Regions from separate parts of the Homo sapiens genome. Here region 2 is linked to region 1. Evidence: promoter capture Hi-C in human tissues and cell types (Jung and others, 2019). All regions are on one chromosome and are shown on one strand. Each heading gives the region's core, a stretch centred on a gene start or on the middle of the fragment in contact. The rest is flanking DNA. Distances are from core to core; before and after follow the strand shown. Region 1 holds the start of DPH1 (diphthamide biosynthesis 1). Region 2 holds the start of PAFAH1B1 (platelet activating factor acetylhydrolase 1b regulatory subunit 1).

Evidence for each region. Contacts are between HindIII fragments. The study calls those that stand out against the background at their distance.
Region 2: the fragment with the promoter of PAFAH1B1 here is called in contact with the fragment with the promoter of DPH1 in region 1 in 1 of the 25 tissues and cell types used here (adrenal gland).

What each region holds. Positions count from the first base shown.
Region 1 is chr17:2,025,606-2,033,150 of GRCh38, forward strand. It overlaps DPH1 (diphthamide biosynthesis 1), which reads left to right and starts at 4,548. Exons shown (of 13, transcript NM_001383.6): 1 at 4,548-4,625. The coding sequence starts at 4,565. RefSeq lists enhancers at 290-790, 4,296-4,887, 4,888-5,479. The HindIII fragment of the contact is 15,169 bases long and covers 1-6,305 here.
Region 2 is chr17:2,589,037-2,596,600 of GRCh38, forward strand. It overlaps PAFAH1B1 (platelet activating factor acetylhydrolase 1b regulatory subunit 1), which reads left to right and starts at 4,618. Exons shown (of 11, transcript NM_000430.4): 1 at 4,618-4,970. RefSeq lists an enhancer at 3,824-4,552 and silencers at 4,387-4,606, 4,657-4,886, 5,297-5,356, 5,417-5,466. The HindIII fragment of the contact is 12,163 bases long and covers 1-7,564 here.

The DNA.
Region 1 (7,545 bases), core at 3,298-5,797:
GGCACCTGCCCCCAGTCCCCAAGCCGGTCCTCGGACCACTCCACGCCCCTCCCCGGCCCCGCAGGCCTCCTGGAGCCCGAACCCGCAGCCCAGCCCCCGCCCGCTCGCCCTTCGCGGCTGGAGGTCATCGGGAGACGCGGCTGGGACGCGAGGACCGCCGCCCAGAGTACGGATCGCGAGTCCGCTCCCTGCCCCGTCTCCTCCCTGGCCAGCGCCCCTTCTCCCAGTCTCGACGGCTCTTCCCCGCACTGAACAGCTCCAGCGAACCCGGCTGCCCCGCACCCCGAGTCCCAGGACACTGTTCTTTCGTGGGGAGAGGAGGGGAGCAAGCATTCGGAAAGGGCCAGCTGCAAATTCCAGGGAGAAGGAAGGACCCGTGCGGGTTCGGGTGGGCCGTCTCCGCCTGGGTGGGGTGGCGGCGGGGGGTCTCTGATCTCCCTTGGTCCACACAGACCCCGCCGGGGGGTTCGCGGAAAATGGAGGAGGCGCCGCTTGGAAAGCGGGTCCCGCAGGGGCCTGTTGAGCTGAGGGAAGAGAAGGTTCGGGCCAGGCGAGATCCTGGGTGGAGGCGGCACCCCCTGCTGGCCTGGGATCAGAGGGATTCGGAGAGAAGAAAAAGCGGATGGACCAAGGCTGTCATTCAACACACATTCACCGAAGGCTCAGCATGTGTGGGGCACTACTGTTCCTGAAAATTCAGCAGACGAAAAAGACTTGTCTTTGCCCTGTCCTCAAGGAGTTTCCATTTTAATAGGGGCCAAATGAGGAAAGTCCAGAGAAGATGGGAAGATTGTGCTTCGAAGAAAAACAAGCAGAGTATTGTTCTGGAGCTGACACGGGGGTAGAGGTGGCAGTCAAGGAAAGCTGCTCTGAGCAGGTGACATCCAAGCAGAAATCCAACTGAATCCCTCCTTGTAGGAAAAGGTGACATGATAGGAAGGTCAAAAAGAAGGTCAGGGCCGGGCGCGGTGGCTCACGCCTGTAATCCTAGCACTTTGGGAGGCGGAGGCAGGCAGATCACGAGGTCAGGAGTTCGAGACCACCCTGGCCCGCATGGTGAAACCCGGTCTCTAATAAAAATACAAAAATTAGCCGGGCATGGTGGCAGGCGCCTGTAATCCCAGGTACTCGGGAGGCTGAGGCAGGAGACTCGCTTGAACCCGGGAGGCGGAGGTTGCAGTGAGCCGAGATCGCGCCACTGCACTCCAGCCTGGGTGACAGAGTGAGACTCTGTCTCAAAAAAAAAAAAAAAAAAAGGGCCAGGCTGGGCGCGGTGGCTCACACCTGTAATCCCAGCACTTTGGGAGGCTGAGCAGATCACTTGAGGTCAGGAGTTCGAGACCAGCCTGGCCAAGGTGAAACCCCGTCTCTATTAAAAATACAAAAATTAGCCGAGCGTGGTGGTGTGCGCCTGTAATCCCAGCTACTTGGGAGGCTACGGGAGAATCTCTTGAACACAGGAGATGGAGATTGCAATGAGCCGAGATCACACCACTGCACTCCTGCCTGGGTGACAGAGCGAGACTGTCTCAAAAAAACAAAACAAACAAAAAAAAAGAAGGCCAGTCTGACGTATTCACTCACACCTGCATTTGGTGGCACTGAAGCTTCAGATTTGAGCTAAGGCTCTGGGCTTGGACTTCCAGAAGCTTCAGGTGTCGTGGGAAAAGAAAGACCCGCAAACCATCTTAGAGTGTGACTGACAGAAGTCACAAAGACTGCGAAAGGGCTCTGCTAGCTCTGCCAGGGGCTACCAGATAATCAGGAAACAGTCACAGAAGAGGTGCCCTTGGAGTTAGGTCTTGAAGGCTGAGTTCACCACACTAAGAAGGGGGAAGGGCATTCCACGTAGATGCTTGAAGGTGAGAAGTAACCTTGTTCTGAAGATAGATAAGATTGGTCCTTCCTGAGGACCATGGGCTCACACCTATAATCTCACCACTTTGGAAGGCTGGGGTGGGAGGATTGCTTGAGGCCAGGAGTTTGAGACCAGCCTGGGCAACAGTGTGAGACTCCATCTCTATTTCAAAAAAATGTTTAAAGATAAAAAAAGATGGATGGCTGCTACTCTGGGCACACTGCCCATGGCCACAGGAGCAGTTAAACACGAACAAAAAAAGATTGGTCCCTCTTGGCGTAGAACAGAAGGTGAGGTATTCCTTCTCTTAGCCACCAGCTACAAGGCAGTGCTCACCCCACTGCCTGCCTTAGCCCTGACACTGGGAGCCTGAGAGGTCCTCTGTAAGTACACCGAGGCCCAGAGAGGATGAACAACTTGCTCAACGTCACATCACAGATCAGCGATAAAGTGTGGGCCTGACTCAGGGCCTGAATGTGGGATAATCCTCCTTCCACCTCTCCAAGCCGCCTCCCCATGACCCCCTAGCCCACAAACTCTAGCGTCTTAGGAAAAGTTGGCTGGGGCTGGGCGTGAGTGTGAGAAGCAGAGTTATTTCAGGCCTCAGGAGGGTTGGGTGCTGCCTTGGAGTCCAGCCAGGGAGTGGGGGCGAGTGAAGGCGGGTGTTGTGGTGTACTGTGGGGGTGCACTGTGCCCGCCTTCTTGTCAGGCAGTAATTACTCAGACTGCTGAGTAACTCAGGCAGGGAGACCCCCACAGACAGATGGAGGTGCCCTCAGCCCAAGCTGAATGGCAGCCCCCAATGTCCTGCACCACGGAGTCTTGGGGAAGCATTCTCACATCTGTTCTTCATGTCCAGTTCTCCTAGGCATCATCCGGCTTCCTAATGGGGGCCAGAGCAGCTCATTAGGCACAGCGGGTGCGGGGCAATGTTACTAGAGGGATGGGACTTTTGCCATCAAACAGGCCCCACCTCTGATGAGGGAAAGGTCCCAAGGGATATGGCGCCTGCTAGGGAGAAGCCATTGCTCAGTTGGAGCCAGTCCTTTCCCCTTGAAACTCCATGCTGCAGTCACAGCTAAGGCTGTCCACAGGCTGGGCAGCAGTGTCCTGAGAGAGGAGGGGCTGAGCTCCCAGAATTCAGATCTTGCACCCTGGGGATCCAGAGAAGCTGGGGGGAGATGGGAAGGTCTAGTCCGGACGCTTATCGAGTTGAGGGGAGTGTTCCTGGGACCCACATTGGTCACTTTTCTGTCTAGAGCTACCTGTCCTAAGAGTGCCGGTGGCCTGGGGGGCACAGCACTGACCCTTGGTGATGGTCCCTCAGCTGCTCACTCCCTGCCTGTCCAGCCATTCCTCCTCTCTGGGCAGCCTCCCAGGCAGGGCCTGTCTCTGGCTGCTTGTTTTTACTTCTCCCTGCACCTTAATTAGGGGTTTCCAAGCAGGGAGGGCCTCTGGGGGAGCCCGAGGACACAGAGCTGACTTAAAGGGCCAGCTGTGATCACAGCACCACCGCAGAGAGAGGAGGAGGATGCCAGGGGGCTGGGTAGACCGTCAGACCTGGAAGACCATTGTTCCACGGGACAGACTGCTGAGGGCCAGTCCTGCAGGTACTTTGCTCTTCCACAGGTCAAAGCCGTCTCACTGGCTGTCTTCTCTTTGGGGTCTCTGGGGCTCTGGCCAGTGATCAGGAGAAAGACCAGCCCTGAGGGGCAGGGCAAAGGTTGGCCAGGGTCCAGAAGGGTTAGACATCACAGTCCTCCACTGCCCACCTTCCCAGGAAAGCACCCTCAGGCTGTGGGCCTTCCCCAGAGGGGCAGTTTCTACAGGGTCTACGCAGTGGATTCTAAAGGTGATAAAGGCTGGGTGCAGTGGCTCGCGCCTGTAATCCCAGCACTTTGGGAGGCCAAAGTGGGAGGATTGCTTGAGTCCAGAGGTTCAAGACCAGCCTGAGCAAAATAGTGAAACCTTATCTCTACTAAAAAAAAAAAAAAAAAAAAAAAAAAAAATTAGCTGAACGTACGCCTGTGGTCCCGGGTACTCAGGGGGCTGAGGCAGGAAGATGAATTGAGCCCAGAAGGTTGAGACTGCTGTGAACCATGATCGCACCACTGCACTCCAGCCTGGGCGACAGACCAAGACCCTGTCTCAAAAAAAATAATTTAAAAAGCTGATAAGGGCGATCCACAAACCTGCACCAAGACTCTCAACTTGGAGCTGGGCTGGTGGTCCCTGAGTTCTGTCCTGCCGGACAGTAGAGTCCCCCTAGGTAGGGAACGTGGCCCCACACGGCGGCCGGGTGACCGACCACTGCTTACCAGGAGGGGAGACTGGCAGGGGGGGCTCAAGGAACATCTGGTGGGTGTCCCCTTCACAAGACTCGGCCTGCAGAGTTCGTGCAGGGAGTTCGCACATAGGAGAGCACCGGTCCGGGAGTGCCAGGCTCGTGCCCGGCCGGGGAGAGGAGTGGGAGACTAAGTCGCAGGGCAAGGGCAACTGCATAGTCGGGGACCTCTAGGGAATCCTGAGTCCCGGCATTCTGGGCTGGGGTGGAGCCCACTACAGCCCCGCCCCTATCTCCTCCTTTATGGCCCCGCCCAGCGGGTATCCCCCGCCCCCGCTGGCCGATCGGCGATCGATCGCAATGTCTGCGCTCTCCGCGTTCTTCCAGCGCTGTCTTTTTAGTACCACATGCGCAGGCAGGTGATGGCGGCGCTGGTCGTATCCGGGGCAGCGGAGCAGGGCGGCCGAGACGGCCCTGGCAGAGGTGGGTGCTGGAACGCTGCGCCCTCCAGACCTCGCATCTCGGGGCGGGGCCCCCAAGTTAGGGACAGGACCAACCCCCTTTAACGGCGGCGGCGCCTTTCTCCGCTAGATCCCGCTGTTAGTCGCCTTGGGCCGCTGTCACCAGCTCGGGGTCGCTGTCAGCCGGAGCCCAGGGGTACCAGTCTTTTGCAGCTTTAGGGCACGACCGAGAGCAGCCCTTAATCCTCCAATCGGAAACTACAGCCTTGTCTTGGCGGGTAGACGGATAAAATGGACTCGACGGGGAGGGAAAGGGCCAGGCCAGATGCAGCGGGCATTTTACGAGTGCGCCCTCAGGGAATGCTTTCAGGGAAGAGGCAAAAGGTTTCATTCGCCAGGCATTAACTGAGCGCCCACCGAATGCCAGGCCTGCGCTGGGTGCAGGTACTAGAATCAGAGATCTCAGTCTACTGGGGGAATGTTAATGTAAACATATCATAGCCACGTGATAAAGGAGGAGGTGCCTACTGGTCCCTGGGACACATTGAAGGGCTAATGTTAGCAGTTCCTTACACGCCAGCGACCACTAGGGACCTGTCAGAGGAGGATCTGTAATGGGCCTAGGAAGCCTAGGCTGATTGTCCAAGGCTTTTGAAACAACTGGCCAAAAACCATAGCAGTGGTAACGTTCAAATCTGATCTCAGGGCCCCAGCCTCCGCTGGACCATCCCCACCGCCGCCCACACAGTGGGTGAAGCCTCATGTCTGGGCGGGTCCCTCCTATCATAGTGTGGGGCCCTAGCAGAAGTTGTGGCACATAGCACAGTCTCAATACATATTCGTTGAATAAGTTAATTTCTTGCCTTTTCATATCCTCAGACTCTGTGGCTCCTGAAGAGATAACGGGGTTGAACTAAGCTTAATTGTCGGGGCAGGGCATAGTGGCTTACACCTTTAGTCTGAGCACTTTGGGAGGCTAAGGAGGATTGTGTGAGCCCAGGAATTCCACACCAGTCTGGGAAACATAGGGGGACCCTGTATGCACAAAAAAATAAAAAATAGCCGTGCGTGGCCGGGCACGGTGGCTTACACCTGTAATCCCAGCACTCTGGGAGGCTGAGGCGGGCGGATTACCTGAGGTCAGGAGTTTGAGACCAGCCTGGCCAACATGGTGGAAACCCTGTCTCTACTAAAAATACAAAAATTAGCCGCGTGTGGTAGCACACGCCTGTAATCCCAGCTACTCGGGAGGCTGAGGCAGGAGAATTGCTTGAGTCCGAGAGGCTGAGGTTGCAGTGAGCCGAGATTGCACCACTGCACTCCAGCCTGGCCAACAGACAGAGTGAGACTCTGTCTCAAAAAAAAAAAAAAAAAAAAAAATTAGCCCTGCGTCTTGGCACATGCCTGTGGTCCTAGCTACTGGGGAGGCTGAGGTGGGAGGATTATCGTTTGAGCCCAGGACGTCGAGGCCGCAGTGGACCATGATTGCACCCCTGCACTCCAGCCTGGGTGATGGAGTGAGACCCTGCCTTAAAAAATAATAAGATGAATTGTTTATTCAGCTTATTATTTTTTATCCTACTTAGGAGTAGGATGAGACCAGAGTAAGAGTTGCAGTTTGCTAAGGGCTACGGTTTCCCCTTTACTCCAGGAGTTGTAATTATGTGTATACCTGTCTTTTCCCCCACTAGACTGCTGGTCTCTAAGGGACAAGGTCACTTTTCTGTCCTTACTGGTACGTCCACCACCCTGACTCAAGTGTTCTTTCCATCCTTCCTGGTTTAAGAGTAAGGAGGAGCAATGGGACAGCTAAGTCAGTTAAATGTATGATGTTTATTTCCCTTTTAAATGAGGAGAGGTAAGCGTGAAAGAACGAACAGTGTGGCCACAGTCAGTGGGGTTCTGAGTCAGGAGGGCAGTCTTTTAAGTTAGTATTCATGTTTAACGGTTTGCTTATAGACCTCATATCTAGAAGCTCAAAACTTCAAGGTGTCCTCAGGAGGTGGGAGAGGGGGGACATTCTCCCAGGCTGGCTGGGCTGGCTAGACTGACTCTTAGGTTTTCCGCAGGGCTGTTCTCTATCAGGGAGCAGTATATGGACTCAGACTCATTCTTTGCCCCTTAGCCCCTGGTGTCACCTCTGTTCTCCTGAGGAAGAAGGTGAGCCATATTCTATTCATGGGCTCAAGTCTTCGATTCCCAGTGATTTCACAACATGGAAATTATACCGGTTACCTTCTGGCTTAATGAATTGTCTCTACCTTCAGGATGAATTCAGTGAGAACGAAAGCTGGGCCAACCCCCTTGGTGTCTGGATCTGGCCCTTAAACTTGGTGGAGTTAACAGCTTAGCTGGGTCTTGTTACCAAACTCAACTTGGGTCTTCCCATCCACACAAAGCAAAAGCCAAACACTGACATGGAGATTTGCAGGGAGAGAACAAGCATTTATTGTAAGGCACCAAGCAGGGAGACTGGGCAGCTAAAGCTTAAGACCTAAACTTCCTGATGGCTTACAAGCAAAGGGTTTTTATTTTATTTATTTATTTATTTTTGAGATGGTGTCTCGCTCTGTTGCCCAGGCTGGAGTGCAGCGGCGTGATCTCGGCTCACTGCAAGCTCCGCCTCCCGGGTTCACCCCATTCTCCTGCCTTAGCTGGGACTACAGGTGCCTGCCACCAGGCCCGGCTAATTTTTTGTATTTTTAGTAGAGAGTAGTATTTCCCCGTGTTAGCCAGGATGGTCTCGATCTCCTGATCTCGTGATCCGCCCGCCTCAGCCTCCCAAAGTGCTGGGATTACAGGCGTGAGCCACTGCGCCCGGCTGCAGAGGGTTTTTAAAGGCTGGGCTTCTGGGGATCTTTAAAGTGAATTAAGGGCTGGGGAATTTCTGGAACTTTCTTACCTATTTTCTGGCTTCAGTCTGTCTGAGGTCTTACATGACA
Region 2 (7,564 bases), core at 3,368-5,867, 560 kb after region 1:
AAACAGACTTTTGCTCTGGAGATACCTTTAGAAGACTTTTTGTCCTTTTCCCAATAGAAGTATTTTTGGAGTGTTTCTTCCAGTCAGCTTATTTGCAGAATTGTTTAAACTGACACTAATTTTACTGCAGCAATTGAAATAAATGTTTCCAGGCTGGACGTGGTGGCTCACGCCTGTAATCCCAGCACTTTGAGAGGCTGAGGTGGGCAGATCACCTGAGGTCAGGAGTTCGAGACCAGCCTGGCCAACGTGGTGAAACCCCATCTCTACTAAAAATACAAAACTTAGCTGGGCATGGTGACGGGCGCCTGTAATCTCAGCTTCTCAGGAGGCTGAGGCAGGAGAATCGCTTCACCCGGGAGGCAGAGGATGCAGTGAACTGAGATTGTGCCATTGCACTCCAGGCTGGGTGACACAGTGAGAGTCCGTCTCAATAAATAAATCAATAAATAAATGTTTATGTTTCCATTTTGAAAATGTCTACTGGAAAAATAAAGATCTGCAATTAAAATGAACAGGGAGATTCTTGGATTGTGGTAAGTAAAATGGATGTTTATACTTATTTTTTTTCAAGAAACATCATCTGAAATGTCCATTATTAAACGTTTCCTGGATGGATATAGTAAGTTCTGTATAAGTCCTTACAAATTCTGATTGATAGCACAGATGTCCTAATTCTACATTTTCAATAGACAAGTGTTTATTAAGATAGATCTATCAGGCCGGGCGTGGTGGCTCACGCCTGTAATCCTAGCACTTTGGGAGGCTGAGGTAGGTGGATTGCTTGAGCTCAGGAGTTCGAGACCAGCCTGGGCAACATGGTAAAACCCCGTCTCTACTCAAATACAAAAAAAAATTAGCCGGGCGTGATAGCGCACGCCTGTAATCCCAGCTACTATGGAGGCTGAGACAGGAGAATCGCTTGAACCTGGGAGGCAGAGGTTGCAGTGAGCCGAGATCATGCCATTGCACTCCAGCCTGGGCGACAGAGTGAGACTCCATCTCAAAAAAAAAAAAAAAAAAAAAAGATAGATCTATCATCCTAGCAGCTAACTGAAGGGAAGGTGCATAGAACCGTAACACATCACTTCACATCAAGGTAAGCACGTAACCGTTTTCTGTTCAGAAAAATCATAATCCAGGGAGAAAGTTTTATACCTTACCACAAAGGGAGTTTATTGTTTTTTGAAGGACCACTATAGAAATAAAATTTGATATAAATTTAGTGCATAATTACATCATATAGATTTTAAATCTTTCTAAATATGAGTCTGTGAGCTCAAGGTTTATAGGAGTTAGTGCTACCTATTTGTATGAAGTCAGTGTTTATAAAAGTGTTTCTGATCTCTTTCTGGGCAATTTTATTTACTTTTAGAGCATTCGTTTAAAAAATAAGGAACTGATTTACTCAGCTAATTAAATATTAAGTAGCATGATATCAGACCATAATAAATATTTTAAAAGGTAAAAATGAAGGGAGGGTGGATTCTTAGAACAAAGGGATGCTAATTTATTGCATGTTTATTGACTGTTATTGAACCCAAGCAATAGCACAGACCAAAGCTCTATGCCTCATTTTATTGTCCTTATCTGAAAATCCCAGAAATGTAAAACTGGACAAGACTTTCTAAGACAATTTGATTCATCTCTGGCAAATCTTCATGAGGCAAAAACCCAAGGCCTTCATGCAATTGGCTCATGTTGCCTTTGAACACTTAGGGGATAGAGACAATCTTTCTTTTTTACTCATTTTACTTATTTAATTTAACTTTATTTTGAGACAGGGTCTTGCTCTGTCACCCAGGCTGGAGTGCAGTGGTGTGATCTCGGTTCACTGCAGCCTCCACCTCCTGGGCTCAAACGATCCTCCCATCTCAGCCTCCCAATGGGTGGAACCACAGGCCCAAACCACCACATCTGGCTAATTTCTCTATTTTTCCGTAGAGACGGGGTTTCCCTGTCTTGCCCAAGCTGCTCTCCAACTCCTGGGCTCAAGAGATTCTCCCACCTTGGCACCCCAAAGTGCTGGGATTACAGCCTTGAACGACTGATCCCAGCCTATTTTTAGAGATGGGGGTCCAGTCTGCCCAGGATACAGTGCAGTAGCATGACCATGATTCACTGCAGCCTGGACCTCCTGGGCTCAAGCGATCCGCCTGCCTCTGCCTCCTGGGTAGCTAGGACTCCAGGCATGCGCCACCACACCCAGCTAATTAAAAGTTTTTGTTTTTGTTTGTTTTTTTGAGACAGACTCTGGCTTTGTTACCTAGGCTGGAGTGCAGTGGCATGATCTTGACTCACTGCAACCTCCGCCTCCCGGCTTCAAGCGATTCTCATGCCTCAGTCCCGAAAGTAGCTGGGATTACAGGCACACACCACCATGCCCGGCTAATTTTTGTGTTTTTAGTAGAGATGGCATTTCGCCATGTTGACCAGGCCGGTCTCGAAATCCTGACCTCAAGTGATCCACCTGTCTGAGCCTCCCAAAGTGTTGGGATTGCAGGCGTGAGTCCCCGCGCCCGGCTGTTTTTCTTTTCTTTTTTTGTTTTTAGAGATGAGATCTTGCTTTGTTGCCCTGGCTGGTCTGGATCTCCAGGGCTTGAGCAATCCTCCCATCTCATCCTCCCCAGTAGCTGGGACTACAGGCATGTGCCACCACACTTAGCTAATTTTTAAAATTTTTTTGTAGAGATGAGGTTTCACTATGTTGCACCTGCTGGTCTCCAACTCCTTGGCTCAGGTGATCCACGGCCCCCCTCCCAACCTCCCCATCCCTGCCTTGGCCTCCCAAATTGCTGGGATTACAGGGGTTAGCAACCTGTGCCTGGCAGAGATAACCTTTCTTGAACAAAGGAAACTTGTTTTGGTATCAAGCAACAGTAATGTTTACATGAGTTACCTATAAGTCCCCACGAAACTAAGATACTTTACACAGGCTGCACCTCCTCTGTAATTCTCACAAAAGCCGGGTTAGTTATTAGGTGTCTTTTATTGAGAAACTGAGGCCAAAGAGAGGTATGGTAATTTGCCCCAGGTCGCGCTTCTGGCAAGTGCGGGGTCCAGGATTTACACCTAAGTTGTCTCTTTCGTTAACTCTGCTGCTTCTCAAATGCAGTATATATATATATATTTACCTACATAAAGTGACGCAATAAAATCAGTACACATAAGCTTAAGCCTGTTTCAAGAAAAAAGCTTCCTTGGACAATACAAATGAATGATAAGATAATCTCATTTAAACCTGTTATTAAAATAATAGCCCATATTGAATTATTCAGAACCCCAAATCTCGCTTTTTAAAAATCAAGGGTCGGCTGAGCACGGTGGCTCACGCCTGTAATCCCAGCACTTTGGGAGGCAGAGGCGGGCGGATCACGAGGTCAAGGGATCGAGACCATCCGGGCCAACATGATGAAACCCCGTCTCTACTAAAAATACCAAAAAAATTAGCCGGGCGTGGTGGTGGGCGCCTGTGGTCCCAGCTACTCGGGAGGCTGAGGCAGGAGAATGGCGTGAACCCGGGAGGCGGAGCCTGCAGTGAGTGGAGATTGCACCACTGCACTCCAGCCTGGGCGACAGAGCGAGACTCCATCTCAAAAACAAAAACAAAAACAAAAAACAAAAATTAGCTGGGCGTGGTGGCAAGTGCCTGTACTCCCAGCTACTCGGGAGGCTGATGCAGAGAATCGCTTGAACTCGGGAGGCGGAGGTTGCAGTGAGCCGAGATCGCGCCACTGCACTCCAGCCTGGGCGACACAGCGAGACTCCGTCTCAAAAAAAAAAAAAAAAAAAAAAGGAAAAGAAAAGAAAAATCATAGGTATCTGTGTGGAATAAATTAACTACAAATCCCCAAGACGACTCTTGTCATCAATATTTCAATCCATAATTTAGCAAACACACACAGACATCCCTTATAGGGATACAGTTCCAGGCCTTTCTTTGGGCATCCGTTTCGAGACCTGGAGAGACTCTGATGTCTGTGTGTGACTAAGGAGAAGAATAGCTGAATCATATCCAAAAGCGAGTCCTCCCAATTAAGAATCTATAATACAAATCAAGACAATGACAGCATTCCATCTGCCTTTTAACCTCAACAGCTCCTCCTCCCAAGCCAGCCAGCCTACTCCCCTCCCTCATTCCCCCCCAAACTGGGAAATCATCTCGGAGGCCGGAGGCAGAAAGGGGCGGTAGGTGGCCGGGCCCCGCTGCCTCTCGCGCCTCCCGGGGCCCGCCACACACGGTGCCAACGGGACGCCGCGGTCGGCCGCATGAGCGCAAAAGCAGGGCAGCGAGGTGAGCAGAGCCAGAGTTCAGAAGGGGCCGCAAGTCAGACGAGGGGCTGGGAAAAAAGAGCCTCTCCCAAGGTTAACAGAAGCGTGCGGAGCGTGAGAAGCAGCACCTCGCACGCAGACTCGCCCGCCGGCCGGGTGGCACCGCTCAGCCGCCCGCCCGCTAGAAGGCAGCGCGGCCCCGGCCCGGCCCAGCCCGGCGCATGCGCCGCAGCCCCTCCTCCGCTCCCGGCGCCCGCCCCTCCCTCTTCCTGGCGGGTCTGGGGCGGCGGCGGCGGCGGCGGCGGCGGCGCGGTGACGTCAGGGCGTTGGGGCAGCTCCTGTGACAGACGGAGCTGGAGCGGCGGGGCGGCGGCGGAGTCCGGCGGCCGGGAGAGCGAGTGAGCGAGCGGAGGAGCAGCGACACGGGAGTCTAGGGAGCGAGAAGGAGAAGGAGGGGAGCGCTCGGGCGCGAGCGAGAGAAACCGCGAGCGCCGAGCTTGGACTCGAGCCCCGGAACGGCTGAGGAGCCCGCCCGCTCCCCTCCCCTCCCCCTCCCCGGGCCCGGGCCCAGCGCGCCATCCTCCCCCCTCCTTCCCTCCCTCCCTCCTTCCTCCCTCCCCTCTCCCTCCCCCTCCCCCGCCGGTGGATGGGAGTGAAGGACGGAAGAGGCCCTGCGGAGGCGGCGGTGCAGCGCTCCGGTAAGGCGGCGCGGGTCTGCGCCCTCCCCTCTGTCTCCTCCACCGCGCCCGGGCGGCTGCAGGCCGGACCCGGCGGCCTGACGATGTGGCTGCGCCGGTCCCCTCCCTCCCATTCTCCCCTCCCCCTGCCTCCGCCGCCGCCTCCTCCTTCTTCTTCTCTCCTCGCTCTCAAAATGGCGGCCGCGACGGCCGTTGAGTGAGAGACCCGGAGGAGGGGGACTGTCCGGGGAGGGCGCTGCCCTCGCTCCTCTCCTCCCGGGCCCGGCTTTGGGGGCTGCCGGCGCCTCTGCGACCCCCGCCCCGCGGCCCTCCCCAAGAAGGGATCGCCCTCCTCCCTCGGTGACTTAGCAAGAAAAGTATTCTTGGGTTGGAAGGGCGTGGGGACCAGGTAGCTCTCTGATCTTGGGGAAAAGGATCGGCCCTGCTCTCCCCGGCCGCGGAGACGAGCACCGCAGTCCCCACCCCACCCTCAGTTATCGGCTCGGGGACCGGCTCAGCCCCGCGCCGCCGGGGCACTCATAGGGCCTTCCAGGCATTCCGTCCCCGACTGGTCCTTAAGATGGGGTTGACCAGCGGAGGGTGGCCCACCGTCTCCCTGGCCCCCGGTGCGGCGGTCCAGCCTCAGCACCCGCCGAGGAGAGGCAGCCCGGCCCACCGAGCAATCCGCAGCATCCACCCACCGAATCTGGCAGGATTTTCTTTCTGCCACCGGCTCCTCGGTCGGGAGTTGCCTTTTGATGCTGTTAACATTCAGCTTCGAGGCTCCCTGCCATTCCCCTTCGTCTAATCTCATCTCCCTGCCCCTTTGGGAAACGCAGTGCCTCTGCATATTTACCCTCTTTAGCCTCCCACATGAGAAAATGCCTTTGAGGTGGTCGACACATTTTGACTCTGCACCTCTAAACGTAGCAGTAGAGGGGAAGAGGTTTTCCGTATTTAGTAGGAGAGAGCAAGGTACCATAGCTTTATATGTTATGCTACCTTTCTTCAGTGACTTAGCAAGAAACTCCTTGGGAAGAGGGCAGGAAATTTTCTTTTGGGGTTTGGGCCCAATTTATATCAGTCTTTTGGTTAAGAAAATACGCCTTTGAAGAGGAGGACCAGATTTGTGGTCTCGTTCTCAATGGGCGATGTCATGCCAAGGTCCCCCCTCCCTCTTTCCTTAAGTGGCAGTCCGGACAAATAGAGATATTACTGATATTCCCATCTCTCCTTTAAGCACACAGTCTTGGAGTTTCATAAGGTTTTAAAGGCCAAACAAACAATTTGTGCCATTTTTGGCAATTCTGTTTTTGTTGGGGGGGTGGGTTATTTTGTGTGAATTTCTTTTCGAGGCTAGGGCGGAGGAGACAGTGCTTGGGCCTTTCATACCAGTGATAATGTCATCCCTCCCTTTTTGCCACAGGAGTGTTTGCTTTTTTTTTTTTTTTTGCTGCAGCAGGGCGGCTTAATTGCTGCGGGGTCCAGTCTCATAATCAGGAAAATTTCCTGTTGACTGTGTCATAGTGATGTTGAATATATAGTAAAAGCTTTTACTTAAAAAATTCTGATTTGGTTTTAAGGCATTAGCTAGCTTTTAATCTCTAATGGGTGTCTTTTAGGACACAGTTTCACAAAATAATTAGCAGTTGCAAATTGCAGTTTTTAATAAAGCAGAAGAGTAATCTGTATTTAGGGTGATTTCTTTCGTGTTCATTAATGATCATTGTTTGGATTGCTCAGAAGGGGGGAATCTCCTAAAAGAAATTGAAGGCTGGTATATATTTTAAAATCAGAAAGGAATCCAATTTTTCACTTGAAGTATTTCTGTATATGTTGATTTTGATGGAGCAAGCCCTACGTTGGTACCTCCCCCCACATCCTTTTTTAAAAAAATGGGCTAATATTTGTGGATGCTGTGAACAGCCATTGAGCCGAGAAGACTGGGTGGAGTAAGGGAGCAGAAGCTGTGAAATGCTGTATTGCCCTTTCACAGCGTCTTTCTCTTGCTTATGTTTTGTAAGGTTATTTGATATGAATGGTTGCTACAACTAAGTCATTTCTCTGTCGTAAGTCTTAAAATCTAATGTTTTCCACCTTTTTTGCATGATGGGCATTGAATGATTGGAATAAAAAGCAATGTCCCTGCTTTAAAATAGACACTTATTGTCTCCTTATTTGTCCCTGTGTGTGTGTGTGTATATATTAATATATAAAGATACACACACACATATATCTACACTCTTGTTAATGTTTTTTATTGTTCTCGCCATATAAGTATAAATTAATGTCAGAAATATTTGGCAAGAAATAGGGGGTACAGGAATACTGCAATAATCTAAGAAAAATACTACAATTGTTTTACTTAAAACAGTAAATCTATTTGAGATTTTAAAATAGTGAACATAAAAGGTGGGGAAAAAAGGATAAGATAATTTGCATGAAAGCCCCTTCAGATCTTTTCTCTTGTGTTGCTCTTTGAAAGGGACCTTTTTGTGAGATACTGCCATAAGCTAGGGTAGGTCATTTTAATGCCCTGTATCAAGCATTCACATGAGTAGACATCTTCAAAAGAATTTCACATATAGGTGGTAAATGTGACTTTGATTAGCCTT